2 separate regions of the Homo sapiens genome follow, and region 2 is linked to region 1. Evidence: promoter capture Hi-C in human tissues and cell types (Jung and others, 2019). All regions are on one chromosome and are shown on one strand. Each heading gives the region's core, a stretch centred on a gene start or on the middle of the fragment in contact. The rest is flanking DNA. Distances are from core to core; before and after follow the strand shown.

Region 1 (6,274 bases), core at 1,019-3,518:
ACCTGGGAGGCAGAGCTTGCAGTGAGCCGAGATGGCGCCACTGCACTCCAGCCTGGGCGACAGAGCGAGACTCTGTCTCAAAAAAAAAAAATTATTACGGTGTAAAGTGACAAATATTCTTTTCTTTTGCCACTCTCCATCCCCTCAACCCTCCAACCTATACAGCCTTGTAAATCTTCTTAAGCAGAATTTGAAAGCAAGTAAATGAAATAGGCACAATTTCTGTGTAGGATAATTTGGTAATATCTATCAAAATTAAAAATCCTTTTGATCTAAAGATTCCAGGCTAAGGATTTATCATACAGGTATAATTTGCTCATTATATGGAGTTGTTTTTCGTTTTTAATTATTTTAACTTTTTTGAGACAGGGTCTTGCTCTGTCACTGAGACTGGAGTGCAGTGGTGCGATTAGGGCTCATTGCAGCCTTCATCTCCTGGGTACAAACGATTCTCCCACCTCAGCCTCTCTAGTAGTTAGGACCACAAGCCTGTGCCACCACAAACGGCTAATTTTTTATTTTTTGTAGAGATGGGGTCTCACTATGTTGCCCTGTCTTGTATGAGGTTATTCATTGCAGCTTAGCATGTAATAGTAATGGCTTGGCAACAAGCGGAATATCCACCTGTAGGGGATTGGTTAAATAAATTAGGATGTTTGCATAAGTGGAATATTATTCTGCCTCTAGGAAGAAAAAGGTAGTTCATTATATACTGATATGGCAGGATGTCCAAGACATTTTTTTCTTTTTTCTTTTTTTGAGACAGGGTCTCACTCTCATCCAGGCTGGATGGCAAGCTCCCGGCTCACTGCAGCACCGACCTCCTAGGCTCAAGTGATCCTCCCACCTCAGTCTCCAGAGTAGGTGGGACTATACGCATGCACCACCACGCCCGGCTAATTTTTGTATTTTTCATAGGGATGGGGTTTTGCCATGTTGCCGGGGTTGGTCTCAAACTCCTGGTCTCAAGCGATCAGCCCCCCTCGGCCTCCTAAAGTGTTGGGATCATAGGCCTGAGCCACTGTGCCCAGCCTATCCAAGATATTTGAAGTGAGAAAAAAAGGACTGAACAGCGTATATAGTGTGTTACCTTTTGTGTAAAAAGAAGTATCCCTATATTTTAATGTATTACTTACAAATATGTAGGGAAAGATACATTATTAAATGCTAAGTGATTGCCTTCCAGGACTGAAACAGCTAACAGACAGAGATGGGAGAATCAATTATTTTTTATTCTGTCATGTTTTGAGTTTTCTATTAAGACATTTCCTAATTTATATAGCTCTATAGAGAAAATGCATATAAAGAGTGAAGCTTAAAAGAAATAGTAGATGTTTAGAGGTGAAAGAAGTGTTCAGAATGATATGCTGAAGAAAAACATTAGTGGGCCGGGTGCGGTGGCTCACGCCTGTAATCCCAACACTTTGGGAGGCCCAGGCGGGTGGATTGGTTGAGGTCAGGAGTTCGAGACCAGCCTGGCCAACATGGTGAAACCGTGTCTCTATTAAAAATACAAAAATTAGCCGTAGGTGGTGGCTCCCCCCTTTAATCCCAGCTACTCCGGAGGCTGAGGTACTAGAATCGCTTGAACTCGGGAGGCGGAGGTTGCAGTGAGCCGAGATCCCGCCATTGTACTCCAGCCTGGGCGACAACAGCGAGATCTATCTCAATAAATAAATGAAAAGGAAAACATTAGTGGCAGAAGATGTTTAAATGACGAAGAAAGAGGGACGGTTTGGCTTCTTAGGGTAAGTTTACTGGAAATACCGAACAGCCTCCTGCGTCCTTTGCCTTTTTGCTGGACCTCTTGAGGACTCGAGGCTTCGACACCTGGAAGCAAGTCTAGGAAGCTCCGGGTTGGGCCGGATCCCCACCAGAGGCGAGGGGCGGAAGGCCTGGGTTTGTCACCTGAGCCCCAGAACCGGCATATCCGGTTCGGCCCGGCCCCGCCCTTCGGAACCTCACTAGCGGGCTACGCGCAGGAGGGCGTGAGCTCCCGGATGTGCAGGCCCTGTACTGCCGTGGCAGCCCTGCCGGACGCGGCCGCAGTGCCCAGAGGCTCAGGCCTATACCGCTCGGGCGGGTCCTTTGCCTGGCCCGGGTCATCAGACCCCACAGCCGGGAACGTCACCACCCCGGGCGTCGCCTCCCGGCCCAGCCGGCCCACAGACCCCCGCCCCCTACTCCCCCAGCGGGGAGGGGCGCAGAGGCATCACGTGACGCCCCGCACCCGCCCGGTCTTGGTCACATGGTGGCACGGCCGCTGCGTCAGTCACAGCCCTGGCTGCAGGAGTCCAGCTGCCGTCGCCGCCGCCAGCGGACGGGGCGGGGATCCTGGTGCCAGGTCTTCGTTAACCCGCCCCCGCCGCCTCAGTCAGCTGTCCCAGCCCGGGCCCGACCGTCATGGAGCGGTGCGGGGCCTACGCCTGTTCCGTGTGAGGCGCATCGCTGCCGCCGCCGCCGACGCCGCCTTCGTTTGTCGAGGCCTCCGGAACCCCCGCCGCCTCCCGGAGCCCCTCGCCCTTGGCAGCCTGTCACCGCCCCCTGGGCGGGCTCGAATGCGCGTCCGGTGAAGGTGCAGGCCCGGCGCCGCCACTGCCGCAGCCAGGAGATGGTTCGGGCCTAGCGGAGCCGGGACTGGAGGTAAGAAGGGCCGACAGACTGACCCAGGGCCGGGCCGGGCCGCGGGGGTTGTGGCCGGGGCCGGGTGGGGGTGGGGGCCCGCAAGTTCTGCGGGGAGCCTCGGGGAGACCCTCCGGGCTGGGGCTGCTCAATCAGGCGTCACCCCTCCTCTCATCTGCGCGTCCCACCCCACCACCTTCCCGCAAAGATAAGAAAATAAAAAAAGCTAACCCAATCCTAACAAAAATTCCCAGAAATCCATCCGTTTAGTGTTTCTCCTTTCCTCTTTCTTTCCTCAGACGTTCCATCGGCTGATTTGTTACTTTTTCATATCCTCCTCAATTTCAAATTATGTCTAATTAAAGAGAAAATAGGCCCAGATTCTGGCTAACATTACCCAGCTAGTTCTCGCTTTCCTTCTCGCGATCCTGCGCACCTCTCCCACACCCCCACCCCCGCAAAAAAAAAAAAAAAAGAAGGAAAAATTTCCGCCTTCGACTTGCGAAGGGGATTGACTAAAAATGGGAACGTGGGGGTATAATACTCGAATACCCTCCCCTACAACTTCTGAATCGGTCTGTTACCTAGTTATCCCAGTAGCTTGTGCGTGGATATTGATGTTTAGGCCTTTCCTCCAGCTGCCTGTGCTTGGGGTTAATCTCGTAATTGACGTCAGTGCTTTGTTCCTTCTACTTTGCTGTTCCTTCCACTCTTTGAGGATGGATCATGGAGTACAGGAGTTTTGGGAGTAACCTTATTGCCTTTTCGTTTACAAACAGTATTATTTTCAGGAAGTGGAAGTACGAATCTGAAATGTTTGTATATGGAGTTCAAGGCGAAGAGTTCGATTTAGGGTTCTCGTAGTTTTGTCAGTTGTAATTCAGAATTATGCGGTTTCTTCCCTGCTGGCCACATGGAAATTTTATACTAAGGCCAGTCACTTTTCCATTGACCAGTGTTTTTCTTGATGGAATCTAAGCTATAGGTGTCTGTGAATAGACTGTAAATGTAACATAAAATGTGTGCTGTTTTTCGGGCTCAGATATGAAAAGCGCAAAGCTTCGTTTCTGTATTGATTCTGCACTTCATAAAGTGCTTTTTAAAACTTAACTGGTCTTTAACTTATCAAAATTGAAATATTTATGAGAACTTTCTTAATTTGGGATTTGATAAAGAGCCTTTGTGGTCTGTGAGTCTGCCTAGAATCATCTTTGGTCATACGTGCATAAAGAAGTGTTGGCAAGTGGCCACTTGGTTTTCAACAAAGCTGGCTTCTTTAAATTTCTCAGATTCGTTTTCCTTATTATCACTGCATCTTTCAGCTCCTAAATATAAGAAAAATTCCCAGTAAGTTATTTTAAGTTATCTTTCAGAGTTAACTTACTAAAAACCTGGAAGCAGTCAAATTTTTCTTTTTTTATTACCAGCAGTTTCATTCAATTTGCGGTGGTTTGCAGGCTGGTACTTTGATTTTTGTTAACTCTCTAGAAACAGTAGGCAAATTTTACTTTAAATAAAATTTTGCTTCAAGTGGGGACAAGATGGGGTGTCTGAAAAAAGAGCCCAGCTGTGTTAATTGGAACATGATCTACAGTTTGGGAGTGTAAGGTGAAGCTGTGTAATTAAGAATTCTTAAAGATTGAATATTTTTGTTCTGAGTCACTTTCTACTTGTCAGATTCTCACATTCAGGTTGATACATTCTCTTCTGTGTACTCTTGAGTTATTGTACCCTTTTTGTAGCAATATATTCTGCAGCCGGGCCTGGTGGTTCACGCCTGTAATCCTAGCACTTTAGCACTTTGAGAGGCCGAGGTGGGCGGATCACCTGAGGTCAGGAGTTCTAGACCATCCTGGCCAACATAATGAAACCCCGTCTCTACTAAAAATACAAGAATTAGCCAGGTGTGGTGGTGCACACCTGTAGTTCTAGCTACTTGAGAGGCTGAGGCATGAGAACCAAATTAGCCAGACATGGTGGTACATGCCTGTAGTCCCAGCTACTCCAGAGGCTGAGGCACGAGAATCGCTTGAGAATCGCTTGAACTGGGAGGCGAAGGTTGCAGTAAGCCGAGATCACACCACTGGAATGCAGTGGCTCCATCTCTGCTCACTGCAACCTCTGCCTCCTGGGTTCAAGCGATTCTCCTGCCTCAGCCTCCTGAGTAGTTGGGATTGCAGGTACACACTACCATTCCCAGTTAATGTTTTTTGTATTTTTAGTAGAGACGGGGTTTCAGCAGGTTGGTCAGACTGGTCTCGAACTCCTGACCTCGTGATCCACACGCCTCGGCCTCCCCAAAGTGTTGGGATTACAGGCATGAGCACTGCGCCCGGCCAACCTAGGCGATGTCTCAAACAAGCAGAAGCCTACTATATGTTTTGCACTGTAATTTTCTTTTTTTCCCTGTCTCTTGCAGATATTGAGGGATGCATAATAATTTTCTTACAGATCTGTTACAGGGTCTTTGAGGAAGTACTATATTTATTCCTCTTTTTATCTTCCTCAGTATTTTACACAATTACTAGATTGAATTTGAATGTGATAATATTTTGAACTTGAAATTGTTGTTCTATCAACTTATCTAAGATTTCACAAAAAGGTAATGTAAAGAAAGCTGTATGAGCAAAGGATCAGTATTTGAAAGGGAAAAACCTGTCAGTTTCAGAAGATGAGACAGAAGATGAAGCTTTCTAAAAGTTATATATTTTGCCTTTTTTGAGAAGGTAAGGTAAATGCCGTAGTTTTATGTGTACCTGAGAGGAACAAATAAAACAGGTATTTCTTCCTTTGTGGCCATCCACTGGTTTAGAATGGAGTTCAAAATCTATGAGGACTTTTCTTTGTGGTATTTTTAATAAAATCAAAGAGGTATTCTTAAGTATTGAGAGCACACCTGGACAATGACCCAGAAGTACAGCATGTACTATAAAAAATTGATGACTTAGATTTTTTTTTACTTTAGCTTTATTCTACAGATATCTCACTATGAAGACTTTTCTATATGATATAAAGGTTCCCAGCTCTCCTGCATCCTTATTATGTTTTACCCATTCCCTTATTCATTTCCTCTGATAAGTTGGAACAATTCTATTTGATTTCTGGGAGGGTGTTAGCTAGTCTCAGTTATTGTGAAAGAAGGTGTAGTGACTAAAGACTGCCTAAAGCTAACCTGACCTGTTACCTTGCTGCTTTTTCCTTTGGTTTAAGAAAAGCGCTCCTACTGGCCAGGCGCAGTGGCTTATGCCTGTAATCCCAGCACTTTGGGAGGCTGAGGCTGGCGGATCACGAGGTCAGGAGATCGAGACCATCCTGGCTAACACGTCTCTACTAAAAGAATACAAAAAATTAGCTGGGTGTGGTGGCAGGCGCCTGTAGTCCCAGCTACTTGGGAGGCTGAGGCAGCAGAATGGCGTGAACCCAGGAGGCGGAGCTTGCAGTGAGTCGAGATCGCACCACTGCACTCCAGCCTGGGCAACAGAGCGAGACTCCGTCTCAAAAAAAAAAAAAAAAAAAAAAAAAGAAAAGCACTCCTACTTGTTGTTAACTCCCTATACATACCCTTCTTGGTTATTTGAAGTGATACTCTAGTACACGGAAGAGGGCAGTAATATATGTTCCAGTTACTGAGTTTTGGCACATCATCTGCATT
Region 2 (6,746 bases), core at 3,000-5,499, 530 kb after region 1:
CTTGCATAACTGAATTCAGTATTTTGCTCTAATTTGAGAAGTTTCTTTTTATTCACTTTTCTCCTTTTCTGGTTTTCTCTTCCTTTGTTGTCCACTGCTGTGCACCATACACTCCTGACATTTTCTGAGAACATCAGAACTATTTCTCTGAAGTGGAGGTTCAAAATAGGGGTTTTTAGAATGACCAAATAATAATGAACACTAAAATTCATTTCAAAGCCTAGGACTAGTCTATTCATACTGATATTCCTAGTCTACAAGGGTAAACATAGCTGTCTTCTCGCCGCCAGCCCCTACACCTGCAGGGGCCTGCTCTGTCTCTGGGTTGTCCGCTCTGGAGGTAGGTGTCAGACCACCTGGTCTCACTTTCCTAGGTCCAATCTCTGGATCTATGGCAACAGAATCCACAGGTCCCTATTCCCATACAGGGGGAATGCAAAGTTGCTGGGGGACAATCACAGTGCAAAGCTGAGATCTGGGCTTCTTTCTAGAGCCATTCTGAGGTCTTCATCACTCACACTAACAATCCAACTAAAACCTGGCTCTTGTAGGAACACATCCTCTTCTTTATTAGGGAGGCTGTTCTCTGAGTTAACATAGTAGCAGTTTCGTTCACAGATCTTTCTGGCAAAAAAGAATCCGACGAGAGCTATGCCTCCACCAAAGGCACAGTTTGATAACACTTTGGGGAAGGATGGTTCATAGCTCCTGAAGAAGAAAGAGTCTGTGATAAGAACCTCTGGCCCACAGGCTTCTTCACACTACACAACTTCCAAAATCCCTAACCACTGCTAATAGCTAGGAGGAGGATAGTGACTGTTCCCAACACAAAGAGATGACAAACATTTGAGATGGTGGATATGCTAATTACCCTGATGTGATCACTATACATAATATGTATTGAAACATCATTATGTACCTTGTAAATATGTATAATCATTATAACACACAATATGAGGTCCCAGACAATGATAATACATAATAATTATACGTTTATGGGATACATAGTGATGTTTCAATATGTATAAATTGAAGTGGTGTGAATTATGTATAAATTTTAACTACATTAAAAATTACAGAAAAATAAATTTTAAAAAACAAAACAAAAAAAATTCTTAACTGCTGTCAAGCTAGCACTGACAACCGAAGCCTCAGCCCAGTACCTCCCTGCTTCCACCTGTGCTGACCACCCTAAGAGAGAAGGCAGAGGCACACAGCCCTTACATCTTGGTGGGGAAACCCTAGGGTTTCCTCTGAGGGCCTGACAGTTTGAAGGGATTGAAAATGAGTGGAGGGTGTGGCCACCTCAGCTCTAGCCTCCTTCTGCTGAGGGACAGTGGCCAAGGAACATCCTCATAGATCCAAAGGAAGGTGGAGAGTCCCTCTTTGTCCTCTCCACCCACCTCATCCCCACCACGCCCTGATGTCACTCCCTGCTGTACCCACCCCGGAAACCCTTAGCCACTTCCCACAGGTCCACTCCCAGGGAAGTTCTTTAATTGGTGGATGTGGGAAAGAGGAAGAGGAAAAATATCATTTCTACCTTCCCAATTCCCTGTATCCCATGAGCCTCCAGTCTGAAAATGATTACCCATCTGACCTGGAGCTCTCATCCTAGGTATCATAATGGCTCTTCTTTTACCCATAAGGAGAATGGGTAATGAAGAAATGCAAAATCCCAACTCATGAAAATGTGGTTGAAAAAGGGAAGACCCATAAAAGTTCTCATTTGTTGACCAGAGACAATAAAGTGATTACTTAAAAAAAAAAAAACCCACCTCTGGGGTCTTTCCAAATCATGGAGAAAAATAAAAACAGGGGAAGACATGCTCTAGTCTTAAAACTCCAATGTGGCCCCAGACTGGTGAGCCCCAACAACAGTAAATACCCACCCTCAGCAGCCTTCTGCCCACCTCACCCCACCAATACTAGGTCCCAGACAAGTCAACAAACACTTATTGACCATGTACTGTGTGCTTCCAACCATTCCGGGAGTTGGAATTCTGCAACCTCAAGGTGCTTTGCGAGGAGCAGGGAAACAGCTCAGTCAACATTTACTGTGTGCTGACGTTTTGCTAGGTTTAGAGGAGGCAAAAATCTGAGAAAAAAACAGCTAAGAATACTCCAATCTGGGAAGTACTAATATACACATAGCACCATAGGAGCAAGGAACAATTAATTCTACATGGTGAGGTCAACCAGAGAAGATGATTTTTAAGTTGGGCCTTGAAAGCACATTAGGATTTTGCTGGGTATAACTGGGAAGGAGTGGCATTCCAGGCAGAAAGAACTGAGTGAGCAAAGGTCAGGGTTGGGGTTGGTATGGGCAGTTGGTTGTATGTGATACGGCGTGTAGTCAGGCCAGTGTTGCCAGAACACGGGGTCAGAGAGCAAGAGCAAAGGAGGTAAGGCTAAAAGGCAGGCTGCAGTTTATGGCAGCCACGAACACATGCCATTCAAAGGACCTGTTGCATGGAGTGCAGACAGCTGACAGGCTGCAGCCTCGGATCCACACCATTCAAGTCAGACCATGTTGCCTCCTGGGTGGCCCCCAGCCAATGACAGAACATGGCAGGGTTGCTCGGGCCTGTCCATTTCTGCCCAAAGTGCGACTCTTCTCCTGGGCAATCTTTGGCTGGAACTCCCCACTGGGCTCGTTGAGACACTCTTACAGCCGCATCACAGTCTGATGCTCTTTCAACAGAATTATCCTTCCCTCTCTTGCGTCCCAGAGTTAGATCTGGACTGCAGTCTGAAAGCTGTCTTTTCTCTCCGTACTTCTGCTCCTTTCTCCTTTATCTTTCATAGGCATTAGCTCTTCTTACCCCCAATAAATCTTCTGCACTTTTCATTCTGTTTTGGTGTCTGCTTCCCAGAGGACTCCAACTGAGAAGGAGCTTAGATGAATGTTTGGGTTTTGCTGACAGTGAGGAGCCACTGAGGTATTTTAAACAGGGCAAGCCATGGTCAGATCTGAGTTTCATAAAAGCAATTCTAGCACTAGGGTGAAGAGCCGGGGGGTGGGGAGACAGGGAAGCAACAGGCAATGAAAAGACCATTTAAAAGGACACTGCACTGATTGGTACAAGGTTTCAACAAGGGGCAACTGGAAGTATATACAACTTACTATGTATATACCCTTTAACTCAACAGTCTCAATTGTAGAAATCTATTTTATAGAAACACTAGCACAAATGCATAAAAGTATAAAAATGAGGATGTAGTGGCCTATAAATATTATCAGGACATTGAAAAACTTTGTGGTCATCTGTAGGGGAGGAGATGAACTAGCAGTACATCTACGTGGTGGAATACATACCAAGCAGCCTTTAAAAAGAAGACAGCAGGTCTCTATGTACTGTCATAGAGAAATATACACAATAGACTGCTATTTGTAAAAAGCCGGTTGCTAGCCGGGAGTGGTGGCTCACGCCTGTAATCCCAGCACTTTGGGAGACTGAGGCGGGTGGATCACCTGAGGTCAGGAGTTTGAGACCAGCCTGGCCAACATGGTGCAACCTTGTCTCTACTAAAAATACAAAAATTAGTTGGGCGTAGTGGCGGGTGCCTGTAATCCCAGCTACTTGGGAGGCTGAGGCTGGAGAATCGCTTGAACCTGGGAGGTGGAGGTTGCAGTGAGCCAAGATTGTGTCACTGCACTCCAGCCTGGGCAACAGAGTGAGACTCTGTCTCAAAAAAAAAAAAAAAAAAAAAGCCAGTTGCTGTACAAAGTATATAGCATGCTCCCATTTTCATGAACAAAGCTGTGCATACGTATATTTATAAAGATCCACATTTGTTTGTATAAATAAGTCTGGAAAGAGATATATCAACTGTTGACAGAGGTCACCTCTTGAAGGTGGTAGGGCTTTCACTTTTTACTTTCTATGTTGTTTTTATTTTCTTTGGTGCTTTTCTATAATATATTTTCTACTTCTTAAAATGATGAAGATGGTTCATTTCTCTTATCAGAACACAAAATTTTAATTTAAAAAGCTTCATATCTACTTGGAAAACCATATAAAAATTCTTTATATTGTATTTCCAGAGAAGAAATAACAAAAATCTCCTAGAATCGTTGAGAGGGCTGTCAGCGGCCTGGTCTCGGTAAAGAGAAATTAGAGATGAGTTGGAATAGAGCCGAACACAGGGTGGTGAAGACAGAAGTTCCAGAAGAAGCCAAGAGTGCTATCTTGAGTAGTGGGCAGGTGACCCACAGAAGGGCGGTGGGTGGGAAGTAGGAGTGAGAGGGGTCTGTGCTGAATGTGCCAGCCTTCAGGAGGCTCAGGCCAGGACAGGGTGTATAAACAAGAGGTGACGCTGGCTCCTGCTTTAGAACTCAGGAGAGTATTTAGGCCTAAACACTTATGACCTACAAAAGATTAAAAACTTACCAACAGTACTCACCAATGGACTAAAACGCTAATTGTAAACAGTGAAGTCATTGAAAAACCAGAAAAATATTGGTGAATACTTATCTAAGGGGGGAAGAATTTTGGATAAAAGAGCAAACAGCATTTTAAAGAAATTTTAGCCATATTAAAAACAAACACCAAGACTTTAAAAACAGAACTCATAAACAAAATCAAAAGACAAGCAAAAACAAGGAATTATATTTACAGCAACACTGACAGAAAGGACATGTCCTTCATATATAAAAAACATATGGTTGGGTGTGGCTCATGCCTGTAATCCCAGCACTTTGAGAGGCCAGCATGGGTGGATCACTTGAGGTCAGGAGTTTGAGACCAGCTTGGGCAACATGGTGAAACCGTGTCTCTACTAAAATACAAAAATTTAGCTGGGCATGGAGGCTTGCGCCTGTAATGCCAGCTACTCAGGAGGTTAAGGAAGGAGAATCGCTGGAATTGAGGAGGCAGAGTTTGCAATGAGCTGAGATTGCACCACTGCACTCCAGCCAAGGAGACAGAGTGAGACTTCATATAAAAAAAAAAAGCAAAAAACAAAACAACAACAACAACAAAACCCAAAAAACACAGATGAGTTTGTAATCAGTAATAAAAATACACTCTCCAAAGAAAAACAGCACTGGAGCTGGGCATGGTGGTATGTGCCTGTAATCCCATCTACTCAGGGGGCCAAGGTGGGAGGATTGCTTGAGCCCAGGAGTTCAAGGCCAGCTTGGGTAACACAGCAAGATCCCATCTCTATAAAAAATAAGTTAGCCAGGTATGGTGGTGCACACTTGTAGTTCTAGCTACTCTGGAGGCTGAGGTAAAAGGATTGCTTGAGCCCAGGAGTTCGAGGCTGCAGTGAGCTATGATTGTGCCACTGCGCTCCAGTCTGGTTGACAAAGCAAGGCCCTGTCTCTTAAAAAAAGAAAGAAAAAGAAAAACAGCATTGATTATGGTATTGTGTATTATAAACATTATTTTGTATTGGTTAGAATTTTGTTCAGTTACATAAAACAGAAAACAATAGTGGCTTAAGCAAGATGGGATTTTCTTTCTTTCTCTCACTGAAAAAAAAGGTCTAGAAATGATCAGTTCAGGGCTGGTTTGGTGACTTCAGGTGTCACCAGGGACCTACGCTTCTTCTGGCTCATCCTGCCCCTATTCCTAAAGTGCAGCTCTCATTCTCATGTCTTGTGGTAGTTGCTAGAGTGATAGTCACCACATCCTCATTTAAGAAAGTAGGATGGAGAAAGGAGGGTGAATAAAGGGCACACCCCCTCCTGTTAAGGAGCTGGCTTCGAAGTCCCATATGACACCCACTTGCATCCATTGTCCGGAACCCAGCCACATGATCACACTTTGCTGCAAAATTGCCAGGGGAACGTAGTTTTCAGCTGGGTGGAAAAGGGATCAGCAAAAAATTGGTTTTGTTACTAAGAAAGAGGGAATGGATACTGTAGAGCAATGAGCAGTTTCTAACATACATGTGAACAAAATTATCAAAAGAAATACAAATGTAAAAGATTTCAGGGTCAACCTTACCAACAGTCAAATATAAGTAAAGCAGGTGGCCTTTTATGGTCTTGTCTGGCTAAGGTATTGAAGAGCTGGCCAGACAAGTCATGAAGACAGTCAAGAACTGACTGTCTTCATAAGGACCGACTGTCTTCATAAGAACCTTGGGACAATGCACATGAACAGAACAGAGTTTCAGGGTAAAAATGGCCCTTTCTCCCCAACTAGATGGCTCAAGGACCCAAGGGCCACTTCCTGGCTGTTCCCCCAAAGTCTCCCTCCAACTCCCAAGTGACATCAGATTCTGTAAATGCTGGGAAGTAGAGAAAAATTCTGTACCCAGGGATTCTCTAACTAAACTATGGCTAAAATTAAATTTTAGGTGTTTTTGAAAGTTCCTTTAAAAAAGTAATATCCTCATGCAAACTGAATCAGCAGTTTCAGAACTTAAAAAAAAAAAAAGAACCTCTGTCGTATTCTTGGGGTATCACAAATTAAACATGAAAACCAGCCACTAAAATAAGGACCAGTGTTTGGATACTACATGGGGGTGATGTTAGGCAACCTCAAGTTATGTCTTTTGGCAGATTCAGGACTTTATGTGAGCTCCCACAGATGGTGATGTCAATGCCACCACCCTTCAGAAGGCACAGAGAAGGAAAGTGCAGAGGACACGGCAAGTGTGGATTCCACAGGCTTCTGAAGTTCATAGGCCTATTTTGAATAGTTATTGTGCCTTTCTCAATCCAGACCAGCATCAGTTACCTCTCACGATTTATTTGAAAGCATTTACTTCTAGTGTTTGCTCTTTTTAAA

Evidence for each region. Contacts are between HindIII fragments. The study calls those that stand out against the background at their distance.
Region 2: a contact is called between a fragment that was not itself captured here and the fragment with the promoter of AFF4 in region 1, in 1 of the 25 tissues and cell types used here (hippocampus).

What each region holds. Positions count from the first base shown.
Region 1 is chr5:132,959,628-132,965,901 of GRCh38, reverse strand. It overlaps AFF4 (ALF transcription elongation factor 4), which reads left to right and starts at 2,268. Exons shown (of 21, transcript NM_014423.4): 1 at 2,268-2,643. AFF4-DT (AFF4 divergent transcript) reads right to left here and starts at 2,090. Exons shown (of 2, transcript NR_186175.1): 1 at 1,768-2,090; 2 at 1,212-1,661. RefSeq lists a silencer at 1,974-2,813 and an enhancer at 4,740-5,241. The HindIII fragment of the contact is 9,387 bases long and covers 1-4,496 here.
Region 2 is chr5:132,430,747-132,437,492 of GRCh38, reverse strand. The region is part of intron 2 of CARINH (colitis associated IRF1 antisense regulator of intestinal homeostasis); the gene reads right to left. Among named protein-coding and RNA genes, the nearest start is that of LINC02863, 7.4 kb to the right of the region's middle. The HindIII fragment of the contact is 9,906 bases long and covers 1-6,746 here.